3 separate regions of the Homo sapiens genome follow, and regions 2 and 3 are each linked to region 1. The links are contacts of gene promoters, found by promoter capture Hi-C in blood cells and fetal thymus (Javierre and others, 2016). All regions are on one chromosome and are shown on one strand. Each heading gives the region's core, a stretch centred on a gene start or on the middle of the fragment in contact. The rest is flanking DNA. Distances are from core to core; before and after follow the strand shown.

Region 1 (2,864 bases), core at 246-2,745:
GTCCAAAGAGGGTGTGGGCTGGCGCGGTGGCTCACGCCTGTAATCCCAGCACTTTGGGAGGCCAAGGCCGGCGGATCACGAGGTCAGGTGATCGAGACCATCCTGGCTAACACGGTGAAACCCCGTCTCCACTAAAAATACAAAAAATTAGCCAGGCGTGGTGGCGGGCGCCTGTAGTCCAGCTACTCAGGAGGCTGAGGCAGGAGAATGGCGTGAACCCGGGAGGCAGAGCTTGCAGTGAGCCGAGATTGTGCCACTGCACCCCAGCCTGGGCAACAGAGCAAGACTCCGTCTCAAAAAAAAAAAAAAAAAAAAAAAAAAGAGGGTGTGAATGGGAGAAATTGGTTGAGGTGAAATCGACCTTCACCAAGACAGGTGGGAAAAAGGGAAGGTCTACTTGGTGTGCCCCCTGGACCCTCTCTTCCCTTCATTTAGCACTGTCACTTTCCAGGGCATGGGATGGTAGGCAGCAGCAGTTCTGGATAATGGATTTGTGGAAGAGAAGAATCCATCTAAAGCACTCTTTAGCCACAGCCCATGATCACTTTTTTTAAAAAATTTTTATTTTTTGCTTTGCTGTTGTTCCACTCTGTCCATACATTGTTTAATACAGGATGGCACACAATACCATTCCTGGTTAAATGTTTCACTTAACAAGCGCCACCCTCTACTCCTCCAACTCCTGTCTCAGGTTTGACAGCTATTTTTTTAACCTAATTTGCGCACGCCAAGAGGATTTCACCTAGTAACTACACGGAGAGACATCCGATGCGTACAAAGACGTGGCATGAAACGCTGCAGGTTTATTGTCTCTATAAAAAGATCGTTAAGGTCGAGCGTGCTAACGTGTGCGGTACTAACTGTACTCACTACGCCCTGGTCACTTTATAGCACAAGTCCGAGGCAAGGAAAGAAGTTTTACAAACAAAACTGGTCAACTGTTCTATCTTCTTACTCCTGGAAAACAATAAAGGTCCACTTTCAAACCATTTGGACGCACTTGCTCCTTCTAAAGGGTTAGGGAGTCCCGGCAGATAGCGTACCCCTCCCCGCCCAGCAGCAGAGAGCAAAGTCCTTCCTGCCGATCCTGCAGACCCCGGAGTCCAAATGGGACCCCGTCCACACGACCGCGGAGTCGCCTCCGAAGACGGCGGTGTCTGGGGCGTGGAGGGCACGGCTGGAGGCTGAGTGGGGTCCACCTTCGCGTGGCCCAGGCTCTTCCATTCACGGGGGGCCCCGCCAGGTTCAGGCTCCAGCCCTGGGTAGTGAAGGGGAAACGGGGAACGGAAGGAGGGAGGGCACGTCACGGGAGCAGGACTGCAGGACCGCGGGTCAGGGGGCGCAGGAACGCCAAAGAAAAGACAAGCACCGAGGGCCGGGAAGGGTGTAGGCTGCAGTGGCAGCGGATCCCCGGCCGCCGCTTCCGGCGCCTCCCGGCCCAGCTCTCCCGCGCCGACTCTGCCACATCCTCCGGTGACGTCAGCCGGGGCCGCCATATTGGAAAGGCGCCGCCGCCGCCTCCGCCTTGGAGCTCGGGGTGTTTCGGGGACTGCGGCCACAGGCAGGAAGGCGCTCCTCTCCTGCCCCGCCGACGCCCGGCCAGCCCGCTTCGCCCTGACCTGTTTCCTCATGACTGCCCCCGGCCCTGCTGCCGACGGACGTCGCCCCGGCGTCCGGATTTAACACGGAAACCCGGATCGGAGGCCGCGCGGGGAGGAGGAGGGCGACCCGGTCGGTCCTGCGACCCTCTCGGCCCGGCTCGGCGCCTCGGCGGGAGCCATGACCTCGCTGACCCAGCGCAGCTCCGGCCTGGTGCAGCGGCGCACCGAGGCCTCCCGCAACGCCGCCGACAAGGAGCGGGCGGCGGGCGGCGGCGCCGGCAGCAGCGAGGACGACGCGCAGAGCCGCCGCGACGAGCAGGACGACGACGACAAGGGCGACTCCAAGGAAACGCGGCTGACCCTGATGGAGGAAGTGCTCCTGCTGGGCCTCAAGGACCGCGAGGTGCGGGCGCGGCGGGCTGGGCGGGGGGCGGCGGCGCGGGGCCCGGGCGCCAGGTGAGCTCCAGGTAGGTGCCAGGTGAGCGCCCGAGGCTTCCGGCCCGCGCACCTGCCCTCGCTCCGAAGTCCGCGCCTGGTGGCGCCCAGCTGACGCCGAGCGGTGTCGGAGTTGGTTGACCCCCTGGCGCGGCTGGTGCTTTCTGGATCCTCCCCGTAGAGATGGCTTGGATTTTTCCTTACCCCTTTCACAGTCGCTCCTTTCATTTCGACACCCTGGCAGTTTGTATTTCTTCGTCGCCTTTTTTCCGCGTTTTTAACCCGTGTAGACCCCAGGGTGCAAATCCAACCCGGAGACTGCCCGGGAAACTAACAGCTGGAGCCACCAGCGCCACGAACTCTTTGGGTTTTTGCAGGCTTTAGGACCTGGGAGGGGTGCCCGGATCTGCTTGCTGGGGATGTTTTTTTTTTCTTCTTCTTCAGTTAAAGCTTACTGTTGGGAATTACGAAAAACGTAGGCGAAGTGGTAATAGAGGGAAAAGCTCTTTTACTGAGTAAAGTTAAGTTAAGTTTCTCATGAAACCTCCTGGTAAATGACTTTCTAGGTGAACTTACATTAGGTGAGAGATTATTTTTAGTATCGCTTTTATATTTTATCAGTTGATGAATCTCAAAGTCTTGCCGTCTTAAGAAAGGGCTTTTTCATCGAGTGCTTGAAATGTAGGTTTGTGAGTTGATCAGAGGCCTCAAAGCTTCAGGTGGGTTGAAGTTGCAATAGATAATTCTTTGTATTCTGACTTTGAAAGCGTTTATTTTCACTTCAGTGTCCAAAATTTTCACACACAGAAAAGTTGAAAAAGTGATAGA
Region 2 (2,864 bases), core at 98-2,597, about 11 Mb before region 1:
TCTTCCCACCTCAGCCTTCTGAGTAGCTGGAACCACAGACATGTACCACCATGCCTGGCTAATTTTTAAAAATTTTTTTTGTAGAGACAGGAATCTCCCTATCTTGCCCAGGCTGGTCTTGAACTCCTGGCTTCAAGCTATCCTCCTGCCTCCGTTTCCCAAAATGCTGGAATTACAGGTGTGAGCCACTGCACCCAGCCTCTTTTTTTTTAATATGCAGAATTGTGCATTTGTTCACTTGCTATTTGGTCCCTTTACTCCAAGTATTTTTCAGTAGAGCTATGAGACAAGAACTACATCTCAAAAACAAAAACGGAGACAAGCAACATTGTAAACTAAAAATCAGGCACTTTGGCAAAGACTGTATCTAAACTGTCTCATGAACCAGATACTTTCTTTTGAACACAGGAAAAGATTTATGCTGCAAAGTGTTTAACAGAAATGAGCTCACCAAAAGTGCTATTTATTATAAGCTTGTCTATTAAGAAAGAACAAAACCAAATATCTATAATGACGTCAAGATTACACCAAACACAACCAGAAATGTTCTAATTTTCTGATTTCTATAAAAGACCTGGCTCTTCAAATAAACGGGAAGCAGTAACAGAGAAAACGAGAAAAATGGGGAGAAGAGTGTAGATCAGGAATGATAATGTCACTAAGTTAAAGGGGCACAATGCCTTTTTTTTTTTTTAGTTCCTCTGACACTGGATTCCTTCACATTTCAATTCTCAAACAAGTACCATTTCCTCAAAAGGGCCTTCCTTACTACCTGACTAAAGTTAGCATCTCCCAAGTCTATTACATCACCCTATTTACTTCCTTTATAGTACTTATTACAATCTGTCTAGCTTGTTTCCTTGTGGCTCACACCCTCCACTAGAACTTGAGCTCCATAGTCATTCTGTAGCACACTGAGAGCACTCTGTTTGTATAAATGAATCAGTAAGCTGGGCACAGTGGCTCACGCCTGTAATCCCAACACTTTGAGAAGCCAAGGAGGGGGGAACACTTGAGCCCAGGACTTTAACACCAGCCTGGGCAACATAGCGAGATGCCCATCTCTACAAAAAACTTAATTACCTGCACGATGGCATGTGCCTGTGGTCCCAGCTACTCCAGAGGCTGAGGCCGGAGAATCCCTTGAGCCCAGGAGGTCAAGGCTGCAGTGAGCTATGATTGCACCACTGCACTCCAGCCTGGGTGACAGAGGGAGACCCTGTCTCAAAAAAAAAAAAAAAAAAAAAAGGAATAAACATCTACAGGCAGTAGACCGACTACAGAGAAAAGAACTACTATTACATTGTTTGGGTTTGCATGAAGCCATCTATGTTGTTCCTCAATAGCTCCATAAAGCCTAGATTATAAGACTTTGTACCACACTGCCAAAAGGGTAATGCCAAATTATTACTGCATTCAGAAGGAGAAAATTTGTCCTTAACATGGCTAAAAGCACTCAAAATTATAAATACATTTGCTGAAAGATACTTTAAATTCTCATTTAAGGTGTGTGGGAGTTAAAAGGTGTTTAATTTTCCCTGTCAGTTGGGTGTTTTACATTGGCTAAGAACCAAGACTGTGACAAGAAATGAGTTCTATGATTGAGAAACTCTAAGATTCTGGGGGTGGCCTAGGAGTTTACTTTGAGATTGAAATTTATTTTCTATGGTCAACTGTATAATTACGATGATACCACCCCTTGCTTTCCATCTGACACTTGGTTTGAGAAACTGTAGGTAGGAAAGGGAAAGAAGAATGTCCCTCCTTGGGCCTCTTCTTTTGGGCCTGTGCTTCCTAGAGTCAAATGTCAAGCTGGTATTTCCTTGGTGCTAAGAGCAACCACCACTCTGAGGCAGAGACGGGATGGGACCTAGCCAAAGTCCCAGTAAACAAACTGTATCTTGTAAGCGCAATTTAATTAGGGTCAAACTATTCTGTATGGACTTGCTTTTTCGACTTCTGAGGATTTAGTAGTCATGATTAAGTGCTGTCACGCTACTGCGATCTACAAACAGTAGCTCCACAACATCCGCCCGCATCGTGGCAAAGAATTATCAAGAAATCCCCAAGGGGGCGGTGAGGAGCCGCCGGTCGGCCAGGTCGCCCGGTCCCTCAGTCTGGTGAAAAGCTCCGTTGCCCACCCTGAGGGCTTCGCGGAAGGAAGTTGGCCGTATCGCTGCACCTTAGAGATGCGACGGCCGAGGCTCCCAGCTCAAGCTTCTGGTAGTAAGGCCTGTGTGCCTGGCATTCGGGGAGGCCACTTTTCTATCCCCAGCTTCCGGGCCACCACTTGGGTGCGTCGTGGGGATGTCGGCAGCTACGTTTGCGGCACAGCTCCGGCTAAACTGAAAAACGAATCCTCAGGTTTGACAAAACTAAACTAAAAAGACACTTTTCTCCTCTCACTCTGACGTCCCAAAAGTTTCCTTTTTAGGGGTCGGGGCCTACGGTGGGCGAGGAGAAACTCGAGGTATCTACCCACCGCACCAAACAACTCATGCGTCGCTTCCTTTCGACTTGGAGCTGGCCAGTATCCCGGCGTCCTCTCGGCCGACGCTGCGGTCTGAGGCCACTCTGGCCGGCAGCCGACGTCTCTATGGCTCCGACCGAGGGGCGGAGCCGCTGCTCGAGCTGCTGCTGGATTGAACTCAGAGAAGCCGGGGTGGGTATGGCTGAGCCGCTGCGTGGGACTGAGGGGAGGGGGCCGGGTGGACGCCGCGGAACTGCGTCCTGAGGTGGGAGACCGGAGGTGGGGGACCACTGAGTCTGATGTCTGGAGGGTCCGGTTGCGGGTCGGAGGGCGTGCTGGAACAGCCGCCACGCGGGAGCCAGGAGCCTCCTGGGTGCGTGTGACCCACGAGCCG
Region 3 (2,864 bases), core at 253-2,752, about 11 Mb before region 1:
TTCTCACTTTATTAAGTTTTGTGGATTTTCATAATTATGTCTCTGTCCTGATTATAGATATTAAAAGATACTCTAGCTGTAAATATATCAGCTATAATGCTAAACTGGAATATACCAAAATTAAAGAATATTCTTAACTCTTTTTTGTTTTCTTTACTCCCCTAGGCATCAAAGGGAAAAAAGGAGTTTCTAGGCAACCCATTCAGAACAAAGAATACGTACACAATGAAATAGATATAAAACCAAAACCCAAGAACCCTAAAAGAAGCTAAAATTCTGTAATTACGTAGGCAAACATTTATTTCCTGCTGTTTTAGATTTTGATGCTGGTGGTAGGGGAGGAGTTACTGCAGTAGCAGAAGAAAAAGCATGGTAATTAATAGCACAAACTTAATTCCTTGCTAGTTGGACAACCCTGGGCAAGTAACCTTTTAGAGCCTGCTTCCTGAAGTGTAAATTATTACAAATAACACCACTTCCCTTTTTGAAAAGAAAAGAAAAGAAAAGAAAAGACAGGGTCTATGTTGCCCCAGGCTGGCCTCGAACTCCTGGGCTCAAGCAATCCTCCTGCCTCAGCCTCCCGAGTAGCTGGGACTACAAGCACAAGCCATCCTGCCCAACATCAAACGATTGCTGTGAGCCTTAGACAATACACAAAACTACATATCACAACGCCTGGCACTTGGCAGGTTATTATTAGAAAAATGTCTAGAAAGTACAAAAATCACTTTTTGCTTCAAGGTAACAGGTATTGATCCATCCCATTGTAGAGCCAGAATTTCCTCTAAATGCTACTTCAGTTCATTTTTCCTAGCTTTCTCCCTATTATGGCAGCCCACTTCACACTGCATGTCATCTGTACCTCTGCTAATACATCACTACTTCTGCTATAGAGTACAGTAAAAGCTTCTACTGTAACCTGCAGCATCTCCAGCAGTCTGAAACATAAGCCCACTGAACAAAGATAGTAATTCACGTTTAATACTTGTTTTCAAAAAACAATGACCACCAGTTTCCACAATGGAAAAGACCAACATCTACCATCTAAGTTTTTCCTGGCAGATCATTCAACCAAGCACTTCACTGAAAGTAAGACTTCTCAGGTATCAAAAGAACAATTTATCTACCTTTACCTACAGGAACTACTGATGCCTATTTCCTATGGTGTCTTGATAAACTGTCTAAAACTGCTTCACCAATTGTTTGCTAAGTATTGTATTTAAAACAAGCATTTAAATAAAATGGCTTCTTTGATTTATTAAATAAAAAAACAACAAGAATCATTTACCTTCTATCTCCACCAATGGTTCTTGGGTAAACTCCTGAAAGAATTTGTAGAAGAACTTACTACAAGCAGCCAAAACAGCCTTGTGAGCCTTAAAATGGTGTCCTAGGTAAAATAAGAAAAAAAAAGAAAATCATACACAAGCACGAAAATCAAATGTATAACTACAAAATAGACTTAAAAATCATATAAAGCAAAATAGGTCTTCCTTCATTACGTAACTACAGAAATTATTGAACTAAATGCAGAATATTCTTGGCAGCTATCTTGGCAAATGTTAATCTCAATTAGATATAAAGCTAAATCTTCACTTCAAACCCCTTTAGTTTTATAAAGCCTAATTTACAACACTAGGTAAGGAGCCTCTTGACACTCTGTTGTTTCCAATTAAGTAGTGAGAAGCATATCCAACTCAGTTGAAACTGCTAAATAAAAGGACAACCCAAAAGGTCACATATCATTTGGAAAGAGAGAAAAAAACCGTAAGCACAAAGCTGGATATGTCTGCTATGAAAAACATTTTAATATGCCTAATATTTGGAAGCTCCATCTATGGTAGACCCATAATTTTAAAAACAGGTTACCTTGAGAAACCTATTTTCGCTAAACAGAAAACATACCCACGCTGGATTTCCTTCCATTATAGAGGCAACTCCTAAGGCTGGTAAAGACCCCATTTTATTTTGGAGATTCTCAAAGGGGGTATGAGTGCTGCAATGGAATCTCTCATTCTCCCTTCAAGACCATTTGGGAAACTAGAAAAAAAATCAACACTTCCCAAATGACTCCTGTAAGGGACTTCTCAAAGCTTACCAACAAGAGGCTATCAACCAAACATTTTGAGACAATCTGTCCCCAACGACATCATCTTGCACTCAACAGGATGTAAGAAGTTAAAATGAGATGAACACCAGACTACGTGGAAGGCATGACTGACCAACCAGCCTTCTGCAGCACGCTGTGTGAGTGGACACTGACAAGTGCAATCTGGTCCCAGTGCACACACTCTGCAGACTTTGGTAGGGAGACCATAGAGGATGGGTTAAAAAAAAAAAAAAAAAAAAAAAGGCGGGTGTCCGAAGGACAGAAAAAAACTGAAGCCAAAAATTCGCTCCTCTGCCCACTGCCCTACCCACCGTCGACAATTAGGGTGATGTCAGTAAACCGGTCCTGCTCTCGCTGTTCATTCAATCGGTCGAGGATCATTTTATGATGTTCAGGGAACTCCTGAAGGCATTCCATCGTCTCTTCAGCCTCCATGGCCGTCGGGCTGCTCTACAAAAGAAGAGCATGATAATGTACACCCATGAGCTCGAGCCGAGGAACAAAACCCCTAAAGCATAAAACAACAACAAAAAAAACCAGCAACGTGAAAAGAAGGGGGGAGGGTGAAGCAAGAGGAGAGAAAGGCGAGGGAAGAAAGGCGAGCCGAGCGGCCCCGGAGCGTTGAGACCGGAGCCGCGGCCGCGGGACTCCGAGCCTGACCTAATTGGAGTCGGGAGACGCGAGCTAGAGCGGGGTGGGCACAGCGCCGGAGGTTCCGAGCGCCAGGGCGCGCAAGTCCAACAAGGGAGGGGAC

The links. The method cuts DNA at HindIII sites, captures the fragments that hold promoters and counts their contacts. A CHiCAGO score of 5 or more calls a contact.
Region 2: a fragment that was not itself captured here is called in contact with the fragment with the promoter of GOLPH3 in region 1 in 1 of 17 cell types (total CD4 T cells); the score reaches 7.1 in total CD4 T cells.
Region 3: a fragment that was not itself captured here is called in contact with the fragment with the promoter of GOLPH3 in region 1 in 1 of 17 cell types (total B cells); the score reaches 6.3 in total B cells.

What each region holds. Positions count from the first base shown.
Region 1 is chr5:32,172,950-32,175,813 of GRCh38, reverse strand. It overlaps GOLPH3 (golgi phosphoprotein 3), which reads left to right and starts at 1,495. Exons shown (of 4, transcript NM_022130.4): 1 at 1,495-2,004. The coding sequence starts at 1,780. RefSeq lists a silencer at 1,602-2,211. The HindIII fragment of the contact is 5,568 bases long and covers 1-2,488 here.
Region 2 is chr5:43,483,620-43,486,483 of GRCh38, reverse strand. C5orf34-AS1 (C5orf34 antisense RNA 1) reads right to left here and starts at 2,565. Exons shown (of 3, transcript XR_007058763.1): 1 at 2,483-2,565. It overlaps TMEM267 (transmembrane protein 267), which reads left to right and starts at 2,619. Exons shown (of 3, transcript NM_022483.5): 1 at 2,619-2,662. RefSeq lists enhancers at 2,290-2,479, 1,745-2,588 and a silencer at 2,534-2,764. The HindIII fragment of the contact is 1,744 bases long and covers 476-2,219 here.
Region 3 is chr5:43,121,735-43,124,598 of GRCh38, reverse strand. ZNF131 (zinc finger protein 131) reads right to left here. Exons shown (of 7, transcript NM_001330707.2): 2 at 2,422-2,560; 3 at 1,289-1,390. The coding sequence starts at 2,545. Among named protein-coding and RNA genes, the nearest start is that of ZNF131, 2.3 kb to the right of the region's middle. RefSeq lists enhancers at 2,030-2,597, 2,598-2,864 and a silencer at 2,744-2,864. The HindIII fragment of the contact is 1,187 bases long and covers 909-2,095 here.